Linked DNA regions of Homo sapiens: region 2 is linked to region 1. Evidence: promoter capture Hi-C in human tissues and cell types (Jung and others, 2019). All regions are on one chromosome and are shown on one strand. Each heading gives the region's core, a stretch centred on a gene start or on the middle of the fragment in contact. The rest is flanking DNA. Distances are from core to core; before and after follow the strand shown.

The links. Contacts are between HindIII fragments. The study calls those that stand out against the background at their distance.
Region 2: a fragment that was not itself captured here is called in contact with the fragment with the promoter of ANKRD26 in region 1 in 1 of the 25 tissues and cell types used here (lymphoblastoid cells).

What each region holds. Positions count from the first base shown.
Region 1 is chr10:27,095,265-27,102,710 of GRCh38, forward strand. ANKRD26 (ankyrin repeat domain containing 26) reads right to left here and starts at 5,230. Exons shown (of 34, transcript NM_014915.3): 1 at 4,821-5,230. The coding sequence starts at 5,062. RefSeq lists an enhancer at 4,667-4,726 and a silencer at 4,897-5,076. The HindIII fragment of the contact is 17,734 bases long and covers 1-7,446 here.
Region 2 is chr10:26,470,537-26,477,982 of GRCh38, forward strand. The region is part of intron 2 of APBB1IP (amyloid beta precursor protein binding family B member 1 interacting protein); the gene reads left to right. Among named protein-coding and RNA genes, the nearest start is that of APBB1IP, 36 kb to the left of the region's middle. The HindIII fragment of the contact is 5,435 bases long and covers 2,047-7,446 here.

The DNA of each region.
Region 1 (7,446 bases), core at 3,980-6,479:
AATATATGCAGATATTTCCAATGACTAATATTCGTGTTTAAGACATAAATTTTCAAAAGGGTAATTAAAGGTTATTTCTTATAATTTTCTACCTTCAGAAACACTTTTGTTTATAAAGAGGGGTTGGGTGCAGTGGCTCACGCCTGTAATCCCAACACTTTGGGAAGCCAAGGCAGGCAGATCACTTGAGGTCAGGAATTCAAGATCAGCCTGACCAACATGGTAAAACCCCATCTCTGCTAAAAATACAAAAAGTAGCCGGACATGGTGGTACATGCCTGTAATCCCAGCTACTCGAGGGGGCTGAGGCAGGAGAATCACTTGAACCCTGGTGGCAGAGTTGGAGTAAGCCGAGATCATGCCACTTTACTCCAGCCTGGGTGTCAGAGCATAATCTCCTCTCAAAAAAATAAATAAATAAGAGGAGGGAGGAAAAGCTTCAATTGAGATTGCCCTAATAGTCTAATTTTAAATCTCTCAACTTGCTCAGGCTGGGCAGGTATGCAAACATAAAGGTTTTGAAGATGGAAAGGTCCTGAGAGATAGTAGACTATGTTTTCACCTGCAATTGCCTTGACCTGAATGAATGCACTCCACTCTGGCCTTTCTTTCCTCTTAGCTCCTAAGGAATCCACAGATCCACTTTGGATTACCCTCTTCTAAGGCCTGCTCACACCCTTAACAGGACTTTTCATATGGGATCCCAAATGGATTCTCCCTCCCACCAACAGCTCTCATACTTGACCAGAGCTCTCATCTGTCCTCTATAAACATCCAAACATTCTTTGCCAAAACAAATGCTAAGAGACCAGACCAGTCTCAACACAGGAGCCAAGCAGCTCACCAGAACTTCTCTCAGGCTTGATTTCCTGGGGATGAGTTAAATACCTGCTTCCAGAAGTGCAGGAGATTCACATCAAGCTCTATGAAGACAGTTTTATATGAGAAATCAGCAACTTTCCATCTTCCCTGACAGCTCTGTAAATTTGTCATAAAATGCATTCCCAAATTCATAGCAGATTAGCTACATTATGTATTACAATGCTAATGCAAGACTGAAATAGTTTAGAACACCACACAGCACTTATATACATATATATGAAGTTCCTGTTGTGAAAGGGGAATAAATATCATATTCATGACTAAAATAGGGATTCACCTCTGACAGAAAAGAATTTGCATAGAAGTAAAATCCTCACTTCAAAGATATCAACTCTGGCCTGGTGCAGTGGCTCATGCCTGTAATCCCAGCACTTTGGGAGGCTGAGGCAGGCAGATCACCTGAGGTCAGGAGTTTGAGACCAACTTGGCCAACGTGGTGAAACCCCGTCTCTACTAAAAATACAAAAAAAATAGCCAGGCATGGTGGTGGGTGCCTGGAATCCCAGCTGTTTGGGAGGCTGAGGCACGAGAATTGCTTGAACCTGGGAGGAGAAGGTTACAGTGAGCCAAGATCATGCCAACTCACTCCAGCCCAGGAGACAGAGCGAGACTCCATCTCAAAAAAAAAAAAAAAAGAAAAAAAAATCAGCTCTGCAAATCTTCATGTCCACTACTGTTATGTTTCCAATTCAAAGATCAAGTCTATATTCTACCACATTTTATTAAAATACTACGCACTTACATTAATATGCTTATAACTAGCGGTGGTTCACGCCTGTAATCCCAACACTTTGGGAGGCCAAGGCAGGCAGATCACTTGAGGTTAGGAGTTTGAGACCAGCCTGGCCAACAGGGTAGAACCCCATCTATACTAAAAATACAAAAATTAGCCAGGCATGGTGGCACGTGCCTGGAATCTCAGCTACTAGGGAGGCTGAGGCAGGAGAATTGCTTGAACCCAGGAGATGGATGTTGCATTGAGCCGAGATCACACCATTGCACTCCAGCCTGGGCGAAGAAGCGAGACTTCACCTCAAAAACAAAAAAGGCCAGGCGCGGTGGCTCAAGCCTGTAATCTCAGCACTTTGGGAGGCCGAGGTGGGCAGATCACAAGGTCAGGAGATCGAGACCACCCTGGCTAACACAGTGAAACCCTGTCTCTACTAGAAATACAAAAAAAAAAAAAAATTAGCTGTCCCAGCTACTCAGGAGACTGAGGCAGGAGAATCGCTTGAACCCAGGAAGCAGAGGTTGCAGTAAAGCTGAGATCTGGCCACTGCACTCCAGCCTGGGCAACAGAGGGAGACTCTGTCTAAGAAAAAAAGAAAAAAGAGATAGTAGACTATGTCTGCTACATAACAGGTATTCAGGTTATGATTGATGAATAAATGGATTGAAAGAATGGAAAAATCATTAGGGAGTTCAATATTTTTAAATAAAATTCTTATAAAGTAGAGTAATTCTTTTATTCTTTTGCAATAATATTTATCTTTTTTTTGTTTTGTTTTGTTTTGTTTTTTTGAGATGGAGTCTCGCTCTGTCACCCAGGGTGGATTGCAGTGGTGCAATCTCAGCTCACTGTACCCTCCGCCTCCCAGGTGCACGCTATTCTACTGCCTGCCTCAGTCTCCCAAGTACCTGAGACTACAGGTGTGTACCACCACACCTGGCTAATATTTGTATTTTTACTACAGAAGGGTTTCACTACGTTGGCCAGGATGGTCTTGAATTCCTGGACTTAAGTGATCCACCCTCCTCAGCCTCCCAAAGTGCTGGGATTACAGGCCTAAGCCATTGCATCCAGCCTAATTATCATTTATATTTGGTATTTTTATTGTCATAAGGACACAACTAAAATAAAATGATTGTACCTGTTTGCATATATAATAAATCTATAATAAAAACATGTATATGATAAAATGTATACATAAAATCTATAAATACAGATAAAAAGATACCCTTTACTTTTTCTTTTTTTATTTTTATTTTTTATCTTCTTAATTTTTGGTGGCAAGAACAAAGATCTGCTTTACCTTTCATTTTTAATAGAGACAGGGTCTTGCTATGTTGCCCAGGCTAGTTTCGAACTCCTGGGTCAAGCAATCCTCCTGCCTGGGCCTCCCAAAGTGCTGGGATTACAGTCATGAGCCACAGGTGCCCAGCCAAGATCCCCTTTACTTCTGAAAAGGATAAAAGTTGTCAGACGATAGCAATCCACCAAAAAAAGAAAAAAAAGAAAGTGGGAAATGATTTTTATCTGTGCAAGATTCATATTCCTCTCTTCCCAAGGATTACTTCATTAATAATAAATTTTCACTAGAACTTTTATACATACTCATTGCAGAAATCATAAAGAAAAAAGTTTGACTTATTATACAAATGCCCAGAAATAACAAATTTTACCACTTTTTTTTTTTTTTGAGACGGAGTCTTGCTCTGTCGCCCAGGCTGGAGTGCAGTGGCGTGATCTCCGCTCACTGCAAGCTCCGCCTCCCGGGTTCACGCCATTCTCCTGCCTCAGCCTCCGGAGTAGCTGGGACTACAGGCGCCCGCCACCATGCCCGGCTGATTTTTTTGTATTTTTAGTAGAAACGGGGTTTCACTGTGTTAGCCAGGATGGTCTCGATCTCCTGACCTCGTGATCCGCCCGCCTCGGCCTCCCGAAGTGCTGGGATTACAGGCGTGAGACACCGCGCCTGGCCAAATTTTACCACGTTTTGTACATATTTTCAGCTAACACAAGACCACAGTCTGTATGTATAATCAAACTTTTTTTCTCACTTGAGATACCAAAGTATATCCTCACATGCCAATACACTTCTGTATCTATTGCCACTTTCTTTTCTTTCTTTCTTTTTTTTGAGACAGAGTTTTGCTCTTGTTGCCCAGGCTGGAGTGCAATGGCACGATCTTGGCTCACTGCAACCTCTGCCTCCCAGGTTCAAGCGATTCTCCTGCCTCAGTCTTCGGAGTAGCTGAGATTACAGGCTCCCACCACCATGCCTAGCTAATTTTTGTATTTTTAGTAGAGACGGGGTTTCACCATGTTGGCCAAGCTGGTCTCGAACTTCTGACCTCAGGATATCCGCTTGCCTTGGTCTCCTAAAATGCTGGGTTTACAGGCGCGAGCCACCACGCCTGGCCTCTACTGCCACTTTCAATGGTCACATATTATCATGCACTGACATTTATTCACAAAATCCATTCTATGGGTTCTCCTTAATACACTGCTTAAGCAATGCTGAGAAAAACAAATTACTTGTATATCTATTTCCTAAAGGCATTTTATTTCTTTTTCTTTTTGAAAGATAGGGTCTTGCTCTGTTGTCACTGACATACCTCACTGCAGCCTAGAACTCCTGGGCTCAAGTGATGCTCCTGCCTCAGCCTTCCAAGTAGCTGAGACTATTAGAGTTGGGGGGGGGGGTCTCGCTATAATGCCCAGGCTGGCCTTGAACTCCTGGCCTCAAGCAATCCTCCCGCCTCAGCCTCCCGAAGTGCTGTGATTACAGGCGCGAGCCACCGCGCCTGACGAATAACAGATTTTATAGAAATAATTTTTAACCCAGAAGTTGCTATATTATGGAAACTGCTTATCTCATTATGCACCTTTCCATAAGTGTATGACATTGTATCTTAAATGTGTACATTAAAAATAAAACGCTGTACGTGCTTTTGTTCGTTAATTCACTTTAAAATTGTCACTTAAGTGCTCTCTAAGGGATTTCGGGGGGATCGGAAACCAGCTAGAGTTCTGTTTTTGTTTTTCTGCTCAGAAAGGCGGCCTGGGCGCTGGAGCCCTGCAAGGTGTCACCGTCCCAGGGGCTACGGAGCCCGCGGGAGGCTGATCCAGGCCCTGGGTGGCTCCCACAAAAGGGGCCCCTCTTCCTGCCCGCCTACTCCAGTGGCACTCAGTCCGGGCTTGCGACGCCTATTACCTGTTCATCTTGTCTCTATCGTTCAAGCCATTCTTCCTGAGCAAAAGGATCTGCTGCACTTTCGCCACATTACCCGCGCTGGCAGCTTTGTGGATCTTGCCGAGATCTCGGTCTCGGACGTGGTAGCCGGGCTGCGAGTAGGCGCCCTCCCCCGGCTCGCCCCCGCCTCCCGCGCTGCTCCTCTGCCGCCGCGCGAAGGAGCCCAAGGGCGACTCGCCCTTCTTACTAAAAATCTTCTTCATGGCCCAGGCGACCGGGCTTCAGAGACACCTCATGTCTCTCTCGGCTCTTAACGGCCTCCGGAGCCCAACATAACAAGTCAGCCCCGGCTGGCCGCAGCCTCCCAAAGGAAACTCCGCGGTTTCCAATCTCTCCCTCCGGGTTACCAAGCAAGCGATCCCGCTAGACACAAGTGCGCATGCGCACCTCAGATGGCAAGGTCCACGCGCGTGCGCACGAAGGCCCAGTGGTCAAGTGTGCTCCATGCGCATGTGCAAGGCCCAGACCTCGCAAATCTCGGCGACTGGGACGAGCCCTGCGTTCCTGTCAAACAAATGTCGGTGGGAGTCTGGCTGAGTGTTCAGGACGTTTGCGAAAAGAAGCCTCGCGCCTGTGGGGAAGCAGCCTTTACGCATGACTGGGACTGGAGTAGCGTGGAGTTTTAAGATGCTGAAAGCCTCTTCTCCGAGAAAACTCCCCTAAGAAACTCTCTGAATCTCCCTATCTCTCAGTTTATTCCCCTTCCATGTCCCTTTGGGTGCCATCTGGTCTCCATGAGAACTTAACAGATGCAACAACAGAGGGCACAGGATTTCGGAGATCGTGGCATATGTGTCAAGTGCAGAGGGCACAGGATTTCGGAGATCGTGGCAATATGTGTCAAGTGCAAACTTACGAGGAGAAACCAATGCACATTCTCCAGAAGAAATGAGAACGCATTTCTGCATGCCTCCTTCCCCCACCCCTCTGCCTTTGGCCCAGCCTTATGTTTTATTTTTTGCTTTTGATTTTCCAAGGTTACATCTCTTTCTTCTTTTTTTTTTTTTTTTCCCCAACAGAGTCTCGCTTTGTCGCCCAGACTGTAGTGCAGTGGTGCAATCACGGCTCACTGCAGTCTCCACCTCCTGGGCTCAACGATACTCCCACCTCAGCCTCCTGAGTGAGTAGCTGAGACTACAGACGCAAGCCACCACGCCCGGCTATTTTTGCATTTTTTGTAGAGACAGGGTCTCACCATGTTGCCCAGGCTGGTCTCCGACTCCAGGGCTCAAATGATGCTCCCATCTCAGCCTCCCAAAGTGCTGGGATTACAGGTGTGAACCACCACGCCCAGCCTAGATTGAATAATTTGACAACAAATTGGAATTAGCAACGCAGACGTCAAGTGGAGTCTCAGCAGAAATTGCTGCTGGAATGCACCTCCATAGCTCTGGACAGCTCTAGGGTCCCTTGTGGAGGAGGTGGCTGGCCCCAGAACAGGCGTCTTTATTGCCAAGTGAGAAATGAGCAAAAACAAAACAACACTTCTCAGGCCTCTCCAGCTTAGCTAGATCAAATGGTTTTGATGTGGGAGAGTGGTTTCCACTATCGTCACCAAGAATTTTCCTCCTACACTACCCCAGCTAGAAAGTTATGTTGTCTCCTCAACACTCCCCAAGGTGATCTATGAAGCTAGTCAAGTCCCAGCACTTTAGGAGGCCGAGGTGGGTGGATTACCTGAGGTCAGGAGTTCGAGACCAGGCCAACGTGGTGAAACCCCGTCTCTACTAAAAATACAAAAATTAGCTGGGTGTGGTGGTGCATGCCTGTAGTCCCAGCTACTCGGGAGGCTGAGGCAGGAGAAACACTTGAACCTGGGAGGCAGAGGTTCACACCACTGCCTCTGGAGTGGAGACTCTTGGATGGAGACCACGACTCTCTCTCAAAAAACAAAAACAAAAACAAACAAAAAATACTCAAGTGTGGAGAACACTGACTCTGAACAGAGGACTCTGACATTTCCTAATGCAGCCTGAAATTAAGGCCAAAGACATTACCAGTCTGGATGGATATAGGAATCACACACCACTCTCCAGGTAAGTTGTAGAGATTTGGTTGACTATAGTGTTTTTGTATAGACCAGAGATACCCAAGGACTATATGTTAGGCCAGCTCTGAGGTGTTGAATTCATCAGCCAAATGCTGGATCCCCAAAAAGTTTCTTGGAGTTCATTGAAAGCTAAGATCTCCCATTCATATGGAAATTAATTTCAGATCCAGAGCAGACACCCTCTAGAAAGTTGTCACTTGGAACTCCCATGCCTATCTAAGGCTAAAGTAATGCCCTGGTTCAGTTTTCCTATACCCTCATTTAATAATTATGTCAATGAAATTAATGTGTTAGGGGAATATTTGTTTTATAGTGAAAATCAACTGAGATATGAATGCCTTAGCAAATCCCTTAGATAAAGCTCTTTTTTTTTTTTTTTTTGAGATGAAGTCTCGCTCTGTCTCCCAGGCTGGAGTGCAGTGGCACGATATCTCGGCTCACTGCAAGCTCCGCCTCCTTGGTTCACACCATTCTCCTGCCTCAGCCTCCTGAGTAGCTGGGACTACAGGCGCCCACCACCACACCCGGCTACTTTTT
Region 2 (7,446 bases), core at 3,514-6,013, 630 kb before region 1:
TCAAAATAAGTAAATAAATAAATATGTTCGTTAGATGATTTTGCCCAACTATAGGCTAGTGTAAGTTCTGAATACATTTAAGTTAGGCTATACTAAGCTACAGTGTGCAGTAGGTTAGGTGTATTAAATTCATTTTCGACTTAGGGATATTTTCAATTTACGATGGGTTTTTCCAGACTTAGTCCCATTGTAAGTTGAGGAGCATCCATAATATGCCACGCAATAGTCAACGTCCTGCTTCTATCCAAACCCACGGTCAGAGTCACCAACCTCAGCCTGTGTCCTTGCCCATCATCTCTCACCAACCTCAGCCTGTGTAATTGCCCATAATCTCTCACCAACCTCAGCCTGCGTCCTTGCCCATCATCTGTCCAGGCATCTGGGGTAGCTCCATGATTACTGCAGTTCCAATGGCTTCATGATAGTAAGAGCAACACTTACTGAACTTTCAGTTCTAAGCCAGAGCCTCCTGTAAGCACTTCACATGCATTAACTTATCGAATTCTCACCTTGACCTCATGAAATAGCTTATCATCACACCTTTTCTAAAGATTAAAAAAAAACTAAAGCACTGAGAGGTTAAATAACTTGCCCAAGATTACACAGCCAATAAGTGTCAGGGCTGGGTTTTGAACTCTGTCCTTGCCTCTGGACAAGGGTTTTGTCTGCATCATGTGGCTCAGTGGTCCTCTAGACCGAAGCTCACCTAGATGGCCCCACATATCACAAGAGATACGTGCACAAAATAGAGACCCCCACACTGCACACGGGGCTAATTCTGCAAGATAATTTTGGGGAGGAATCTTAACTATTACTTTTTGTTTTATGTTAATGAATGAATCATTCTGAATGTGGGAGGTAAAGACTCAGTTCCTTTCTTGCTTCCAAATAACAGAGTGAAAAATATTGTCAGTAGCATCTTTGAGGAGGAAGGGAGAATATTTACTAAGAAATGCAGGAAAAGAATTAAAACTGGATTGTCACTGAAAAATCATATGGTAGCTCAGATTCTTCTGATATAAAGTTTTTTCTATGGTATGGATCACCCAATGTATTGTGGACATACAGACAGTCACAGAAATGACCGTAAATCCTTCCTTCCAAACAGAGAGAGGTAAAAGGCACCTTGGGACCTGCACTGTTTAAGCTTTTTTTGTTTTTTTTTGTGAGACAGAGTCTTGCTCTGTCGCCAGGCTGGAGGTCAGTGGCGCAATCTCGGCTCACTGCAACCTCCGCCTCCTGGGTTCAAGCGATTCCCCAGCCTGAGCCTCCCAAATAGCTAGGATGACAGGCACGTGCCACCATGCCTGGCTTATTTTTTATATTTTAGTAGAGATGGGGTTTCACCATGTTGGCCAAGATGGTCTCCATCTCCTGACCTCATGATCCGCCCTCCTCGGCCTCCCAAAGTGCTGGGATTACAGGCGTGAGCCACTGTGCCCGGCCTGTTTGAGCTTATTCATGCAAACTTTAGCAGACTTGACTGGGATTTTTACTAACAGCTCTAATCCTCTGGGGTTTTCAGTGACAGATGCAGAACGTTGACCAAGATGGGTGGGGGCTGCGGGGGGAAGAAAAACAGAAAATCCCTCACCCCACAGAAAAGCAAGAGTTGGTTGATAGTTCCAGTTTTATCCTTGAGCCACACCGCATGTAATTTTTCTGCACATGAAAACATCTGGCTCAGATCATCATATCTTGAAAAGAAGAGCAAGCTACACATTTTCAACAATAGAGCTGATTAAATTATAGTGCAGTGCATCCACAGGAAAGAGGCCTGGAGCCATGAAAGTGGCTTTGGAATAATGCCCAATAATAGAAAGGAAAGCATTTTACAATCGCTATGGTCTGTATGGACCCACCTTCTCCTCATGTCTTTATCTCTATTTCCCACCCACTTCTGAAGGAGTTCAGTTTGGCTTCTACCCTCAACACTCCTGCACTGATAACCAGGGAGGTATCTGTGCAGTTAAAGCCAAAGGTCATTCTTTCATTTTCATCTTGAGAACATTCAGTATCCTCATCGTGTTTGTTTCATTCATTCATTCATTCATTCATTCATTCACATTTTCTTTTGGACATGAGAGATGATGCATTAAATGTTGAAAAACATCTTGGCCAGGCACAGTCAAGATCACATGTATAATCCCAGCACTCCGGGAGGCCAAGGCCGGCAGATCACCTGAAGTCAGGAGTTCGAGACCAGCCTGGCCAATATAGTGAAACCCCGTCTCTACTAAAAATACAAAAATTAGCCAGGCATGGTGCCACACTTCTGTAGTCCCAGCTACTCAGGAGGGTGAGGCAGGAGAATCACTTGAACCCGGGAGGCAGAGGTTGCAGTGAGCTGATATTGCACCACTGCACTCCAGCCTGGGCGACAGGGGGAGACTTCATCAAAAACAAAAAGAAAAAGATCTTAAGAGATAACAGCATACAGTTATTCATAGAGGTACATATCATTTCTTCTTAGGATTACAAAAGAAGTGTGTCTTCACTTCTTTACATTGACAATACAAAGATTCTAAGGCATATGGAACAGGCTAGGACCCTCAACTCTTTGTTACTCAAGCCCTTAGTCTTGTTCCTTACAACTTTTAGAGCTCACAACATGATTTTTAGGTTTATCAAAAAATGTCATGAATGTTTCTATATTTCTTGTTGGTTTATTTCTCATTATTGAGTTATATATTGCTGGAAGTTTAACAACTTCTCTTGAATTCCAACAGGAAGCATTTGCTAGGTAGGCATTTGGTACCTAATGGATAATCTTTCATGATGGATAAATCTGCCACATCAGTCTCTCTTGACTTTGAAAATTAAAATCTGGGCACTTTGGGAATTTCTGCTGTCTTAATTGGCTGGCCTGTCCTGTGAACAGCCGTCTTCTCTAAATGGTATAATAACTGCATTTCAGCGCTGTCTCATTGTGAGTCTTTTTGAAAGCTTTTAAAATGATGTTGTGTGATCCAAATTTAAATTAATAGTTAAGCAGTGTGTTCTACCACCAATGCAAATAACTCAACTGAATGACAATTGGATCCTGCTTCACTCAGTTTGCGCATAAATGGTTGAGGAAAACTACATCATAGGTGACCCCCGTTGGTGGTAGCCAAATTTCATAGTCTACTGTGTGAACCATCATGATTTCAGAAGCACTAAAATATAGAAACATACATTCTTGGCCAGGCACAGTGGCCCATGCCTGTAATTCCAACACTTTGGGAGGCCGAGGTGGGCAGATCACTTGAGGCCAAGAGTTTGAGACTAGCCTGTCCAACATGGTGAAACCCCATCTCTACTAAAAATACAAAAATTACCCAGGTTTGGGGGTGCATGCCTGTAATCCGAGCTACTTAGGAGGCTGAGGCATGAGAATTGCTTGAACGCCGGAGGCAGAGGTTACAGTGAGCCGAGATCGCACCACTGCACTCCAGCCTGGGTGACAGAGCCACCCTGTCTCAAAAAAAAAAAAAAAAAAAAAAAGTATGTTCTTGAATAGAAGAAATATGTTGTCACTATTTCTCCTTTTGGTTTCAGTGATTTTTTTTAATGTTCTCCAGCAATTTGTGGATTTATTTTGCAATTAGAAACAACTCACAAAACAACTACCAGTTCTAGCGTGGGCTGTGGTAGATTGAGCCTTTCAGAGAGTGTATGAAGTGGTGGTTTCAGCTCTCCAGTGGCTGTATCCTGCCTTCTAAGCAAAGCCTGGAATTTGTGCTCTGCCTAGGGCTGATGCCCAAACCTCAGTGGACAGGCCTGGTTTTCATTACTCCAGTAATAAGCAAGTTCATTACTTCATTGCTTGGAATCTTTAGCAAATATCCCCTCTGGGCTCCTGGAAGTTAAAAAGCCATTTGACACTAATATGCTCATGCTAAGTAAAAGAATTTTACTAATCGCCCAGGAAAATCTTCCTTGCACTAGAAAATGTTCATCTTCCAGTTGATGTTGAATGTTCTCTCCACAAAAATAATAACTGAGGTAAAGCATTTGTTAATTAGCTAGAACTAAGCATTCAACAATGTACACATACTTCAAAACATCCTGTTTCACATGATAAATACATAGAACTGTATCTGTTGGTTTAAAAAATAAGTTTTTTAAAAAGTAAAAAATAAATTGTCTTCCTTGCTGAAGCCAAATGAAAAATTGAGTCTAAAATATTTTAGGTTCTCCCACTTCCTCCTTCTCCATTTCCAGCTTGGAGTTGGAAGGAGAGAAAAGATTAATTTTTCTACATCATTGCTCAAAATCTTGTGATTACCAGAAAAGTTCCACTTCAGCCTGTTTATTAAGTAAGACATCTAGATCCAGGCATCTGTTTGCATCTCCTTTTTAACCAAGCTAAAGGTAGGTCTCAAGGCCATGGCCAGATCTGGACCTTGGCTTAACATTATCTGTTCTAGAGGCGGAAACGCCATCATGTCTATGAAGACATAACCCAGTTTTAGAAGTTTCTAGAAGCAGTGATGTAACAGACACCTCCCTCCTTTGAGATGAGAACGTGGCTCTATGAAAGCAGGTTTCTGTTTGACTCTCGCTGATGTGTCCGTGTCTTCCCTTGTTTTTTCTTTTTCTTTTCTTTTTTTTTTTTTTTTGAGATAGAGTCTCACTCTGTTGTCCAGGCTGGAGTGCAGTGGTGCAATCTCGGTTCACTGCAACCTCCGCCTCCCAGGTTCAAGCGATTCTCCTGCTTCAGCCTCCCAAGCATCTGGGATTATAGGCCCCTGCCACCACACCCAGCTGATTTTTATATTTTTAGTAGAGACGGGGTTTTGCCATGTTGGCCAGGCTGGTCTTGAACTCCTGACCTCACGTGATCTGCCCACCTGGGCCTCCCAGGAATGAGATTACAGGCCGGAGCCGCCGTGCCTGGCCTTCCCTTGCTTTTTCTTTGTGTGGATTTGAGTACATGTCAGATGTGCTGTGTGTGTCTAAGTGTGTGTTCCACCTGTGTTTTTCCTTCACACAATCCCAGGCCCTGATATGTTGTCTATATGGCTTATTTTCTGGAGCAGACAGGAACAGTGTAATGAAAGAGATCAGACTTGCGTTTAAATCCCATCCGGCCATGGATGTCCTGTGTGATCTTGGGCATGTCATTCGAACTCCTGACCACAAGCTCCTCATCTAAGAAAAGAGTGATATTATCTACCCCCACATGGTTTCTATGAGATTTAGACCAGATAATATATCAGCAGTACACAGGAGAGATAATATTTTTTTTCCTTTGCATAGTCTTTCCCTGCTACTGCTTTTCATTCTGCTCTTCTCCCTTCTTCCCCTTCTCTGTTTTTTGTTTGTTTGTTTTGTTTTGTTTTTTAACCCAGGTCGAGTCAATTTCAAAGGCTGGTTCTGCTTCTTTTATTCTCCAGCTTTTCATTTTGAAAAGTTTCAAAGCTTACACCAGTGCAGTGGTTCATGCCTATAATCCCAGCACTTTGGGAGGCCAAGGCCAGAGGATCGCTTGAGGCCAAGAGTTCAAGACCATCTTGGGCAAGATGCTGTCTTTATAAAAACTTTTTTTTTTTTTTTTGAGAGAGTCTCCCTCTGTGGCCCAGGCTAGGGTGCAATGCCACAATCACAGCTCAGGGCAACCTCCGCCTCCCGGGTTCAATCTATTCTCCTGCCTCAGCCTCCCGAGCAGCTGGGATTACAGATGCCCGCCACCACGCCTGGCTAATTTTTATATTTTTGGTAGAGACAGCATTTCACCATGTTGGCCAGGCTGGTCTCAAACTAAAAATTTTTTTAACTAGCTGGGCATGGTGGTGTGCACCTGTAGTCCCAGCTACTTGGGAGGCTGAAGCAGGAGGATTGCTTCAGCTCAGGAGTTCAAGGCTGCAGTGAGCTCTGATTGCACCACTGCACTCCAGTCTGTGTGACAGAGCAAGACCCTGTCTCAAAAAAAAAAAAAAAAAAAGAAGAAAAGAAAAGAAAGGAAAAGAGACAGTTTTAAAAAGTTTTAAAACTTAAAAAAAGTAAGAATCGTGTAATGGACAGGCATGTACCCTTCACCAAGATTCACTCATTATTTACATTCTGCTACATTCCTGCTTTATTTTTTTCACCATTTATCTCTTAAGAACAAAGACGTTCTGTCTTTGTTACACAATGCATGTATCACAGTACAGTAAATGTACAGTAAATGTGATCATGCTCAGTAAATGTTATGTGATTTAATACTATATTCTGATATATAGTCCATATTCAACTTTTCCAATTACCCAACAATGTCCACTTTTCTGTTTTTATTTTTATTTATTTATTCTTTTTAAGGCGGAGTCTTGCTCTGTCACCCAGGCTGGAGTACAATGGCGTGATCTCAGCTCACTACAATCTCCGCCTCCCAGGTTCAAGAGATTCTCCTGCCTCAGCCTCCTGAGTAGCTGGGATTACAGGCGTATGCCACCATGCCTGGCTAATTTTTGTATTTTTAGTAGAGGCGGGGTTTCACCATATTGGCCAGGCTGGTCTCGAACTCCTGACCTCAGCTGATCCACCCACCTCGGCCTCCCAAAGTTCTGGGATTACAGGTGTGAACCACCGTACCCAGCCCTACTTTTCTTCCCAGACCAGTTACTTTGTTCATTTTGCAGAATATTCCTCAGTTTGGATTTAGCTGATCAATTCATCTTGATTTTGGTAGCAGTATTACAGAGGTGAGGCTGTGTCCTCAGGGGATTGCATCAGTGGGGCACACGATGTCACATGGTCCCATTATTGATAATTCTAAGTTTGATCATTTGGTTAAAGCCATGTCCACCAGATTTTCTCAATTAAAAGTATTTCTTTGATAAGTGTTAAGTAATAGTTTTCATATAGTTTTACTTCTGAGTCTTGTTGTGCATTTTGGGGTCATATTCTCATTTTTTCACCTACCCTGGAGTTTGACTTTGCAGAGTGGAATGATACTTCAAGTGAATACCATGTTCTCCAACCATCTTTCACCTAGTGGTTTATTCATTCATTGTTTATTCTTGCCACCCACCATGGTGGTTGTAGAATTATGTCTTTTGAAAAAATTCTATCATTGTCTCTTCTACTGCTCTCTCTTAAGCTGTTAACCTACTTTGCAATACTTTTGAAGATTTTTCATGACCAAGGTAGGCACTATGCTTAGCAACAAAACACAAAGGCGAATAACACGGCCTCGACTCCTGCCCCTGTGGAGCTTGAGTGAATATACCATGTTTCTAATTTTTTTGAGTCAAGGTCTCACTCTGTCACCTGGGCTTGAATGCAATGTTAGATCACAGTTCACTGCAACCTCAAACTCCTGGGCTCAAGTGATCCTCCCGCCTCAGCCTCTCAAGTAGCTAGGTGCATGCCACCACATCCAACTAACTTTTTAAAATTTTTTGTAGAGACGGGATCATGCTGTGTCGCCCAGGCTGGTAGTTTTTTAAATTTATCCATTTATTTAACAAATAGTCACTC